Linked DNA regions of Homo sapiens: all the other regions are linked to region 1. Evidence: promoter capture Hi-C in 16 types of primary human blood cells and fetal thymus (Javierre and others, 2016). All regions are on one chromosome and are shown on one strand. The core of a region is centred on a gene start or on the middle of the fragment in contact, and the rest is flanking DNA. Distances in the headings are between cores, read along the strand shown. Region 1 holds the start of LLGL1 (LLGL scribble cell polarity complex component 1). Region 2 overlaps SLC5A10 (solute carrier family 5 member 10). Region 3 overlaps SLC5A10 (solute carrier family 5 member 10).

Region 1 (3,526 bases), core at 1-2,500:
AGTCAGCTGAAACCAGGAAAGGGCTTTGAACAGCGCCTGCCCCGCAGTAGACACTTAGGGGCTTTACTGTCGTCATTCTCCCTCCTCTCACCTCCTCACTCACTCCTGGGCCCTCTTCCGGATCCAGCCCCAAATACGGGGAAGGGCTGAACACCGCCGGCCTGGCGTGGGTGGAGGGGGACAGCCAGGCCCCAAGGCTTGGCAGCCGCCTCGGGCTCAGAGGTCAGCTCCTGCTCCCTGGACACAGCTGGTGGGGTTGGGGCCTGTCCTACCTGCCCCACCTAAGCTTCTAGGACCTCCCGCAGCCCCAGCCCTGAGCCAGGCGGCCTATCCTCAGCCTGGAAGGAAAGGTTCAGCCTCGAGGCCATTGTCCAGATGAGAAAAGGCCTGGGAGGTGGGTGGGGACAGGCAGACGGCCCCTGAGAGTAGGGGCAGGGCTAAGCTTTGTTCAGACGCTGTTCTCTGCGGGGGGAGGTCCTTCCCCCATCTCCGTAAAGCTCCAATCCAACCCCAGAACAGTCCCAAATGCCACCTCCTGGGGATCCCGTCTCTTTCTTTGGCTAAGAAAGAATCCCCTGTGCTGTGACACAGAGCCTTTTGCGTTGGGTCCTGAAAGATGTGTAGGAGTTCCCCAGGGGCTGGGGGTGAGGAAAGAATTCCTGACTACAAAGCCAAGGCAAAAGCACGGCGGTGGGAGGTGCTCTGACAGAGCGGGGAACAGACGAAATGGAGTTCTGTGAAATTGGTAAAATATAAACTTGGCAATCACTTGACCAATGGTGTAGATGGGGAAACTGAGGCGCAGAGGGGCCAGGGAGTTGTTCCAGTCAGAGCTGTCTTGGCTTTCGGAACAGGGCTGCCCCATTACATGAGTGGGCACGTCGCTCGCTCTCTGGGAGGAGGAAAAAGTCTCCTCCAAGCCCGGGAACGTGCGCCAATCCCCCTCCAAAGCGCTTCCCCAGCCGCCCGCGCTGGAGCCCCGGCTCATGGACTACAAGTCCCGGCAGGCCCCGCGCCGCGGCGCATGCTAGGCGGGCGTCCCTTCGCGAGCCCGGCCGAGCCCGGGGGCCCAGTTCACCATTGTCTGGCCAACAGGGGCGGGGCGGGCGGCACGGCGGGCTCGCTCACTGGTCGGGCGGCGCGTCCGTCGCGCCCGGCGCCCACCCCCGTGCAGGCCCGGCCCCGCGCGCCCGCGCCCGGGCCGCCTGGCGCCCCGCCCGCGCCTTAGGACCCGCGGGGCCGCGCGGCGCATCCTGCGGGCGGCGGCGGCGGGCGAGGCGCCTGCAGCCGGGCGCAAGATGATGAAGTTTCGGTTCCGGCGGCAGGGCGCCGACCCGCAGCGCGAGAAGCTCAAGCAGGAGCTTTTCGCCTTCAACAAGGTGCGGCGGCGGCCCGGGCCCGGGCTCGGGCGGGAGGGGGCGGGACGGGGGCCTGGGCTGGGGGCCCGGGGTCGGAGCCACGTCGGGCCCGGGGGGCGGGGGCTGGCATGCAGCGCGGCGCGGGGCGGGGCCGGGCCGGGCCGCGCACCCCCTCGGCGGGCCCCGCTCTGGCTCGGACTCTGGGTGGGTCTGGGTCTCCGGCCGACTTTCCGTGTCTGCTCCCCGAGTCTCTGCGGGCCGCTCTGGCCCTGGCTCTGCCAGTCTGTGTGTGTGGGGGTCTGTCTCTGAGACTCTTTGCCTGTCTCTGGGTCTCTGTCCCTCTTTCTCCGCCGCTGACCGGCTGTCTCGCCCCAGTTGTGCCTGTGTGTGTGGTGGGGGTGTCTCTGCCTCTGCCCCTTCCTATCTCTGCCTGTCTCCCTTTATCTCTCTGCCTCTCATTTCTCTTGCTGCCTGTGCGTCTCTGAGTCTTCTTTGCCTGTCTCTCCCTGCGTGTCTCTCTCTCTGTCTCTGTGGAGTCTCTCGACCTCTGTCGCTCACTTCTGTCTCTTTATCCTTTTTCTTAGGGGCTCCATTGCGTCCCTGCTCGGCCCTTGGGACAGCCCTGGGGCCCGGTTTGTTTTGTGCTTTGGCACCCAGGAGGGTGAGAGAGTTAGTGGGGGCGAGGCAGCTGTGGGGGGTGCGGCTGGGAAATCCCTTCAAGGAGCCTCTCCTTCCTTCCCCCACTGCTCCAGGCTCTGCCTTGCCCTGCTCTGCCCTGCCCGGGGCTCCGAGTCCAGGGGACATGCCTGGCTGTGTACTACACTGCACTTCGCATCGTGGGGCCTCAGTTTCCCTAGCTGTGAAATGAGGCTACTTTTCTCCATACTGTGGGCCCTGGCTCCCTCTGCCACATGGGCCAGCTGTCCTGCCTTTCTGCACCAAGGTGGAGTGAGGTGGAGGCTTTTCCTTCCTTTCCCGGAGTGGGACACTAGGGGCCAGGGAAAGGGGCCGCCTCAGCCCCCGCCTCCCTCTGCACTGATGTTAGAGCAGGGCCTCAGCCCACTCCTGGCTCACTGCTCTGGGGACGTTGGTTTTGTCCTCATTCTTACCCCAGAGCCCACTGATGGCAGAGCCTCTCAGTGCTCTTCGAAATTAGAGTTATCTTCAAAATACAGGTGAGAAAATTGAGGTTCTGAGAGGGGTGACGGCTTGCCCGGAGTCAGAGTGAGCTGCACCAATATCTTTCTTGAGTTCTTGTGTCAGTGGGGTTGGATTTTAGCCTTGAGGGGCAGGGATTTTTCCAAGGGGCTGCTGTGGTCCTGGGCCAGTGTTGTGCCAGGCGCCCTGGGCTGCCTTGAGGAGACACTTGTCTTGGAGGAGGCTCTGGGACGGCTGGACCTGGAGTAGTGGAGGCACTGGGATGTCTCAGGGTTTCCCTGCCTAGGTCTGCAGTGATTGCCGATGAGAGCTGCCAGGACCCTCACACGGTGGCTGAGAACCTGCTAGGAACCTGAGAGGGGCCCAGAAGGGAAGCTGGTGCTCCGTGGTCCCCAGATGGCACCTATTTTCTGTGCCGGGGAGGCTGTGAGGGTGAGGTGAGAGGAGAATGGCCCTTCAGGGAAAGGCAGCAACAGGCACAGGGCTAAATGTCACTTTTTTTTTTTTGAAATGGGGTCTCACTCTCACCCAGGCTGGAGTGCAGTGGCACAATCACAGTCCACTGCAGCCTCACAACTCCCTGGCTCAGGTGATCCTCCCATCTCAGCCTCCTGAAGCTGGGACTACAGGCTCGTGTCACCATGCCCGGCTAGTTTTTGTATTTTTTGTAGAGATGGGGTTTCACCATGTTGCCCAGGCTGGTCTCGAACTCCTGGGTTCAAGCTATCTATCCATCCATGTTGGCTTCCCAAAGTGCTAGGATTACAGACATGAGCTGCCATGCCTGGCCTAAATGTCATTTCTTCAGCCAGTGAATTGGGGTGTGCAGTGGGGGCTGGAGACAGATGGGGGTGAAGCTCAGCCCACTCTGGCTAGCCTTGGGGTGGCGGAAAGTAAGGGCCCTCCGCTGAGGATGAAGCGTGGGCAGCAGTGGTGGAAAGTGGGGTGGTCTTGGGGAAGGGACTTAGTCACCTAAGTGGGTAATAGGTGATCGCTAGGGAATAGGCCCC
Region 2 (3,526 bases), core at 639-3,138, 770 kb after region 1:
CCCACCCTCTGACTATTAAGGCTGAAGCCTCATTAAGGCCAATTAAAGGAAGATCAGGCCTTCTGAGCACCAAATGGCTGCAGTGGGTTGGGGTCAAGAAGCCCAGGCTAATCATGCCCAGAGCGCTCTGACCAGGAGGCTCAGCCTAGCCCAGTGGCATGAAGGCACTACCCTGAGTCTCCTACCTCCCCCAGACGGACATCAGCTTCCTGGTCATGGCTCAGGAATACTGCAAAGACAAGGGGCTGGCAGAGCTTGGGGAAAGGCCATGAGGTGACCAAGGCTGTTCCCTGTGGATGAGGCAAGAGGGCAAGATCCTTTCCCGCTGGCCGCAAGGAGCTTCAGAATCCTCAGAGCTTCCAGGCTTGCAGGCGCAGGATCCAGCCAACCAGACCATCCCATGTGGGCAGCAAACGGCACCAGCTGAGAATTTTCAAACAGGAAAATCTCAAAACTATAGATTCAAAAGCCTTTAAAACCTCAGCTTCTCCAGGGTCCAAGAGCGACAGACATTGGGGCCATCAAGCATCCTAATGCCCCAGAAAGCCTGGCTTGGAAAGGACTTGCCCAAGGTCACAAAGCACACCAGGGCAGGGCTGAGGCTTCTAGGCCACCTGGTGCCCACATGCTCTCTGCTGCGTTCCAGTGAGCCCCTGCTTGAACTTCTCCCAGGACAGGGAGCTCACCACTTCCACCCCAGACTACTCACAGAGAGAAGCTCTCAGGACAGGAGTGAGGAGTGAAGGTGGAGGAGGCGAGGGGAGAGATCTGGCATCTACCGATGCCAGCTCCATGCCAGACACAGAGTGTTTTACACACCACACTTTTTCCCATTTAAATCTCACTGACTTTATGAGGCAGGTGTTAGCTGTTAGCACTACCATGACACTGAGGAGGAAGGAACAGAAGGTCAGAGAGGCCAAGCAACTATCTCCAAGCAGCCACTAAAGATAACACCAGAGCTGGGGCTCATGCCTGGGTCCCAGTGATACGGAAGCCTGTCTTCCCACCACCCCACATGGCATTTAACCTGGCAAGGTACTCGAGCCCAGGGGTCATTCAGACCCTTAAAGGGGACTAGGACAGCCCAACCAGGCCAGGGCCTGCCAGGCTGGGGCCAACGTGGGCCAGGGCACAGGGTGGGACCCCATCTTCCTCCCCAGCTGCTCTCAAGGCAGAGGGTAGCTCAGTGCTTTTGGATGCTCCTGTCTATCACTGCGTCAAGACAAGGCCTGATCCCCATTTTACAAGTGAAGAAACTGAGGCCGAGGGTCCTGCAGCATGCAAGTGGCTAAGTGGGACCAGCACTCTCTGCTGGCCCAGGGGCCAGGACCCTCAGCTGCAGGGAGACCCTCTCCAGCCAGGGAGACCCAATCCAGGTCCAGCCACACCTAAGACCCTTGGTGTAACCTTATGAAGGCCCCAGCCGACTCTGAGCCTCAGTTTCCCCAGCTGTGATATGAACATGACGGCAGGCCCTGGCTCTTGGGGTTGTGGGAAGGAGGCCAGCCCAGTGGCTGAGCAGCTGCCTGTCCCACTGGAGTGCCCAGACGGGCAGGCACTCTCTCCTTAGAGCTCCTTCCTCGAAGGGCTGCTCCCGGCTCTCCTCGAAACTCTTAATTAAGGGAAGGGAGCCTTTGGAGCGCACAGGAGTTAACACCTGGGATTACTTTATCAGATGGTTCCCCACCCACTCTCTGACCTGTGGTGGGAGCCTGGGCCAGCTGTGCGCCCCACAAGGTGTCAACTGGGCCACCTGTGGCCTCTGGCAGTGTGGGGAGCTGTCCTGGCACTGCCCAGCTAAAGGATGCAATGAGTGGCCTTCCTCCTGGTCCCCAGGCCACAGAGCTCACCCTGTTCTTGTGAGTCCCCGTCCCAGCCCTCCTCCAGAGAGCCCAGTATTTAGCTGCCAAGGAGCCTCATGAAAACGCTTTTACTGCCAGGCACGGTGGCTCATGCCTGTAATCCCAGCACTTTGGGAGGCAGAGGCGGGTGGATCACAAGGTCAGGAGTTCGAGACCCACCTGACCAATACGGTGAAACCCCGTTTCTATTAAAAATACAAAAATTAGCTGGGCGTGGTGGCGCACACCTGTAATTCCAGCTACTCAGGAGGCTGAGGCAGGAGAATCGCTTGAACCCTGGAGGCGGAGGTTGCGGTGAGCAGAGATCGTGCCACTGCACTCCAGCCTGGGCGACAGAGCAAGACTTTGTCTCAAGAAGAAAAAAAAAAAAAGAAAATGCTTTTACTGTCCTGAGTCAACAGGATCCAGCAGTGAGGCTCTGGTGCTCCCATGCAGGGGTAGGGCTCAGAAGGAACAGTGCCACTGCTTCTCCAGGGAATGGGAGGGTGCTCAGGGCCTGCAGACTGGGGGTCTCGGCCCAGTCCCTCCAGATATCAGTTCTGTGACCTCAGGCCAGTTATTTGCCATCTCCGAGCCCCACCAAGCCTCAGTTTCCTCATCTGCACAATGGAGACAACACCTACTTTCCAGAGTTGTGGGGAGGATTACACAGCATGGTAAAGTGCCCGCTCAGCACCTGGCGCGGGGCTGGCATTTAGTAAGCACCTCATTAAGCTGCTTCTATTCTCTCAGAGCCAAGCTGTGGGCCAGGACTTCAGTGTGTGAAGGCGGGGGCCTGACAGAAAAAATGTGGGGTGAATCAGGCTTCGTGAAACCTGGGTTCGACTTTATTTCTCTGGGTCTGTTCCCAAGCCCTGGCCTGGCATGCAGAGATCAGTGTTCTGGCCCTGGCCACCGGCGCCTCACCTGCCCTCAGTTTCCTCAACTGTGAAATAAGGAAGGTGTGATCTGTCCCTGCCCTGGGGCCTCACCCTGGGGCTGGTGAGGGATCCTGCTAAGGCCCCCCTGCTGTGTCCTGTTGAGGGGGGCTCAGCATCTGCTGGAGGAGCAACCAGCTAGAACATCTACATCCAGCTCTGGCTGAGGAAGCCCCAACCCAGCCCAGCCTCACGCCTTCTCAGGCTGCAGCCAAGTGAGGCCGGGGCTCGCCCCTCCCAGGCGTGATCTTACAAGCCCGTCCTCTGGTATGTAGTTGGAACCCCACAGCAGGTTTTTTCCCAGATAAATCATGGCTCCTGGGGCTAGGGGAGGGGCAGGCAGTTGACCTTCCATCTTGGAGTAGGAGCCCACTAGGGCTGGAGGGAGGCTGGAGGGCACAAGCTGCTGAGAGTGAGACCTGGGACCCACCCGCCTCTTGTCCCAGGGGAGTCTAGGATCACAGGGCAGCAAGGTGTCAGGGCTGAAGGGGCCCCTAACAGTCTTCAATACCTGTTCCCATTTTACAGATGGGATGACCGGGGCTTGGAGAGGAGCTGGGGCTTGTTCCAGGTCCCACAGTCAGGCAGAGGCAGAGCACGGACTCTTGGCTCCTGGTCCTGCTGTCCACTAGTTCCATTCTAGTCATTTGGGAACAGGGGGGACTGACAGCAGTCCTGACAGGAACACAGCCGCTCCCCTAAGTGCTGCGTCACTTCCCTGCCCCAGGGTCTGCCTGTTGTGCT
Region 3 (3,526 bases), core at 509-3,008, 730 kb after region 1:
TGCAGTGGCACAATCACCGCTCACTGCAGCATCCACCTCCTGGGCTCAAGAGATGCTCCCACCTCAGTGTCCTAAGTAGCGGGGGCCACAGGTGTGTGCCACCAAACCCTGCATTTTTTGTAGACCTGGGGTCTCACTATGTTGCCAGTCTGGTCTCAAACTGCTAGGCTCAAGTGATCCGCTTACCTCCGCCTCCCAATGTGCTGGGATTACAGGCATGAGCTACTGCACCCAATAGAACTTCATTCCTTTTGAAGACTGAATAATATTTCTTTATATAGGATATACCACATTTTGTTTATTTACTCATCAGTCGACAGAAATGTGGGTTGTTTTCACTTTTGGCTATTATGAATAATGCTGCTATGAACATTCGTGTACAAGTTTCTGAGTGGATGTGTGTTTTCAATTCTTTTGGACATATACCTAGGAGTGGAACTTCTGGGTCATATGGTGATTCTATGCGTAACCTTTTGAGGAGCTGCCAAGCCGTTTCCCATTCGACTTCCCAGCAGCAGTGTGCGGGCTTCCAACTCCTGTCCCTTTTCTCCTCTTGCAGTCCTCTTGTCGGGCCAGTAGGAACACGGTGAATGGCTACTTCCTGGCAGGCCGGGACATGACGTGGTGGCCGGTGAGTGCACCCTGACTTCTCACACACCCCCACTTTGTCCGTGGGGCTGTGTCTGATCTCTAGGTCACCTGGCATCTGTATCTTTGAGCCAGTCCAATTCAGTGGAGCAGGCCGGAGGCTGGCAGGAGGTCCCCAAGTGAGGGGCATAGGGCTGAGCTGCTAGAAATTGTGTAAGGGGCAGGGGCTATGGAGTCTGAAACTTACATCCGCTCCTTAGCTGTGCAGCTAGTCATGGGTAGAACACACACCCTGGGCTCCTCATCCGTGAGGTGGGGCTAGGACCCCGCTTAGGTTTGTGAGGATGAGGGAGAAGCTATTAGGCCCAGGATGGGGCCGGCGCAGGGAGCCTGCTGCTGATGCGTTTCCCTTTCTCTCCTCCAGATTGGAGCCTCCCTCTTCGCCAGCAGCGAGGGCTCTGGCCTCTTCATTGGACTGGCGGGCTCAGGCGCGGCAGGAGGTCTGGCCGTGGCAGGCTTCGAGTGGAATGTGAGTCCTGGAGGACTGGCGGCCTGTGGGAGGGCCAGGGCACAGGATGTGGTCGCAGCACTGGAGGGGGACAGCTCCCAGTGGCTGGTGTCAGCCGATGTCCAGGTGGGCTCTGTGCAGTGCTGTTCCTGGGCCAAATCGTGTCTTCAGAATACCAAGGTGCTGGATGGCACGACTGGCAGGGAGCTGTGGGCCTTGCCCAGACCTAGAGAGGGGAAGGAGCCACCCAGGATCTCATGGCAAGTCAGGAGGGGCTGGGGGAAGCCAGGCCTCCGGATGGCTCATCCCAGCCATGTCTGCTTTGTCTCTGGAGCAGAGCTGTGGGAGCTGCACCTGCAGTCCTCACCTGTCTCTGTCCCCATAGGCCACGTACGTGCTGCTGGCACTGGCATGGGTGTTCGTGCCCATCTACATCTCCTCAGAGGTGAGTCTACTCATGGGGCCTCCAGCTGGGGGGCTGGGCCTTGGTCCAAGTTGGTGGTAGTAATGGGCAGGACCACCGTGGCCTCACATCAGGAGTTGGTAAACTCTTAGGGCTGGGTTTGCTATTAGCCCGACTAATATTTCTATCAACCTGCTAAGGTGGATCCCGACTAATATTTCTATCAACCTGCTAAGGTGGATCCCCTCAGACCTCAGCCTGGGTGCCGTGTTGGCTGGTTTCCACTGCCCTGAGTGCTGCATCTCAGGAATAATGTCCCATCCAGCTGGGCACATAGGCTGTACAACTGGGCCATGCACCTGGTTTGCACACCTGGCCCACACACCTGGGTAGCATACCTGGGCTGTACCCCTGGGCTGCGTACCTGAATGGCACACCTGGGCCGCACAATTGGCTGCACCATCGTCGACTCTGCCCACTCCTTCAGCCCCAGCCATGCAGCCACTAAGTCCAGTCAACTCCACTTCCTGGATGTCTCTCAGCCTGTCCCCAGCTCTGCCCCTCACAGCCACCTCCCTCATCCAGCCTCATCATAGTGCACCTGGATTTGTCATAACAGCCTCTAAACTTGTCCCTCTGTCCCAGCCACGGCCCCTCCAATCCATTCCTCGTCTCAGCCCTAAAGAGCCAGTCTAGGGATCTCAGCCTGCCACTCCCCTGCCTGACACCCTCGGGGCGCAGCCGGAGCAGCCCGGGATTCCAGGCCGGGTGCTGGGGCTGTAAGGGGTCAGTGCCTGGGCCTTGCCCTTGAGAGGCTCGCAGCTGCTTTGTGGCGGGGGGAGAGGCAGAGTGATTGAGACAGGCCCTGCCTGGAGCCCTGGGCATCATCTGGAGGATGCTTAGCCCCTACCCATGTGCCTTCCCAGATCGTCACCTTACCTGAGTACATTCAGAAGCGCTACGGGGGCCAGCGGATCCGCATGTACCTGTCTGTCCTGTCCCTGCTACTGTCTGTCTTCACCAAGATATCGGTGAGCTGCCCCCGGCTCCCTGCTGGCATAGCCTGGAAACATCGCCAATCTGTGGGCCCCTCAAGAGGACCTGACATCTTCTCATTCATCTCTGCCTTGTTTAACAGCTGGGCAAATTGAGGCCCAGAGAGGGGCAATGACTTGCCCAGGGTCACGCAGCGAGTCTGGACAGGTAGTCCAGGGCCCCCGGGGTGTAGGCTCAGCAGCCAGCCCTAGTCAGGGACAGAACACAACCTGGTGACCTCTGCTTTGCCTCAGGTTCTAGACACAGGGTGTTAGGACGGTTCTCGGTCTGAGGTCAGTTCTGGGGCCGGCACCGGGGTGAGCCACGATCTCCCACTAGGGGGCGCCAAAAGCCCACGTGGTCTTAGCCACATCTGGTCTGCACTGAGCTGACCTGCCTCTCACCCCAAGGCTGGTGGGCTCCATCACTGACACCCATCCTTGGGGGCCTGGCCCTGCCCCCACGGGCATATTAAGAGCAGGAGCACACCTCGAATGTCAGGGTCAGGAGAAGCATAGAGCTCATCTTGTCCAAGCCCCTGACTTTACAGAGAGGGAAACTAAGGCCCAGAGAAGGGAAAGAGCTTGTCCTAACCCTCCCGGTGACCTCATGGCAACACTAGGCCTTCTGCTCTCACTCCAAGTCCCTGGGGGCAGCTAGCTTCATCCAGCCCCAGGCTTCTGAAGGGGCTTGAGTCCTGGGGCTGCCTGATTCTGGCTGAGAGAGCTGACACTAGCCCCTGCGACCTCCGAGCCTCCCTGTGCCTGGGGCTCCTCCCTTGTAAGGAGGGGCGGCAGACCTTGTCTCCTAGGGCTCCTGTGAGTTGGTGGTAGCAATGGGCAGGACCACCGTGTGAGGGCTGCTGTGTCTGCGGGAAGTGCTCTGTGAGGCCCAGCTTTCCCTCAGAGGCAAATGGCCTCCTGGGCCCTCTTCATTCAGTCCTGGGACTAGGAAAGCCCAGAAGAGGCGTCGATTTAGTGAAGGGAATGGAG

The links. The method cuts DNA at HindIII sites, captures the fragments that hold promoters and counts their contacts. A CHiCAGO score of 5 or more calls a contact.
Region 2: a fragment that was not itself captured here is called in contact with the fragment with the promoter of LLGL1 in region 1 in 1 of 17 cell types (fetal thymus); the score reaches 6.7 in fetal thymus.
Region 3: a contact is called between a fragment that was not itself captured here and the fragment with the promoter of LLGL1 in region 1, in 1 of 17 cell types (fetal thymus). The highest score is 5.1, in fetal thymus.

The regions. Positions count from the first base shown.
Region 1 is chr17:18,224,385-18,227,910 of GRCh38, forward strand. LLGL1 (LLGL scribble cell polarity complex component 1) reads left to right here and starts at 1,251. Exons shown (of 23, transcript NM_004140.4): 1 at 1,251-1,379. The coding sequence starts at 1,299. RefSeq lists silencers at 913-1,392, 1,543-1,712. The HindIII fragment of the contact is 4,006 bases long and covers 441-3,526 here.
Region 2 is chr17:18,997,061-19,000,586 of GRCh38, forward strand. The region is part of intron 9 of SLC5A10 (solute carrier family 5 member 10); the gene reads left to right. The region is part of intron 2 of FAM83G (family with sequence similarity 83 member G); the gene reads right to left. Among named protein-coding and RNA genes, the nearest start is that of FAM83G, 5.9 kb to the right of the region's middle. The HindIII fragment of the contact is 7,329 bases long and covers 1-3,526 here.
Region 3 is chr17:18,958,123-18,961,648 of GRCh38, forward strand. SLC5A10 (solute carrier family 5 member 10) reads left to right here. Exons shown (of 15, transcript NM_001042450.4): 2 at 560-631; 3 at 1,013-1,117; 4 at 1,482-1,541; 5 at 2,426-2,530. Among named protein-coding and RNA genes, the nearest start is that of SLC5A10, 7.7 kb to the left of the region's middle. RefSeq lists a silencer at 2,799-2,958 and an enhancer at 2,958-3,526. The HindIII fragment of the contact is 7,255 bases long and covers 1-3,526 here.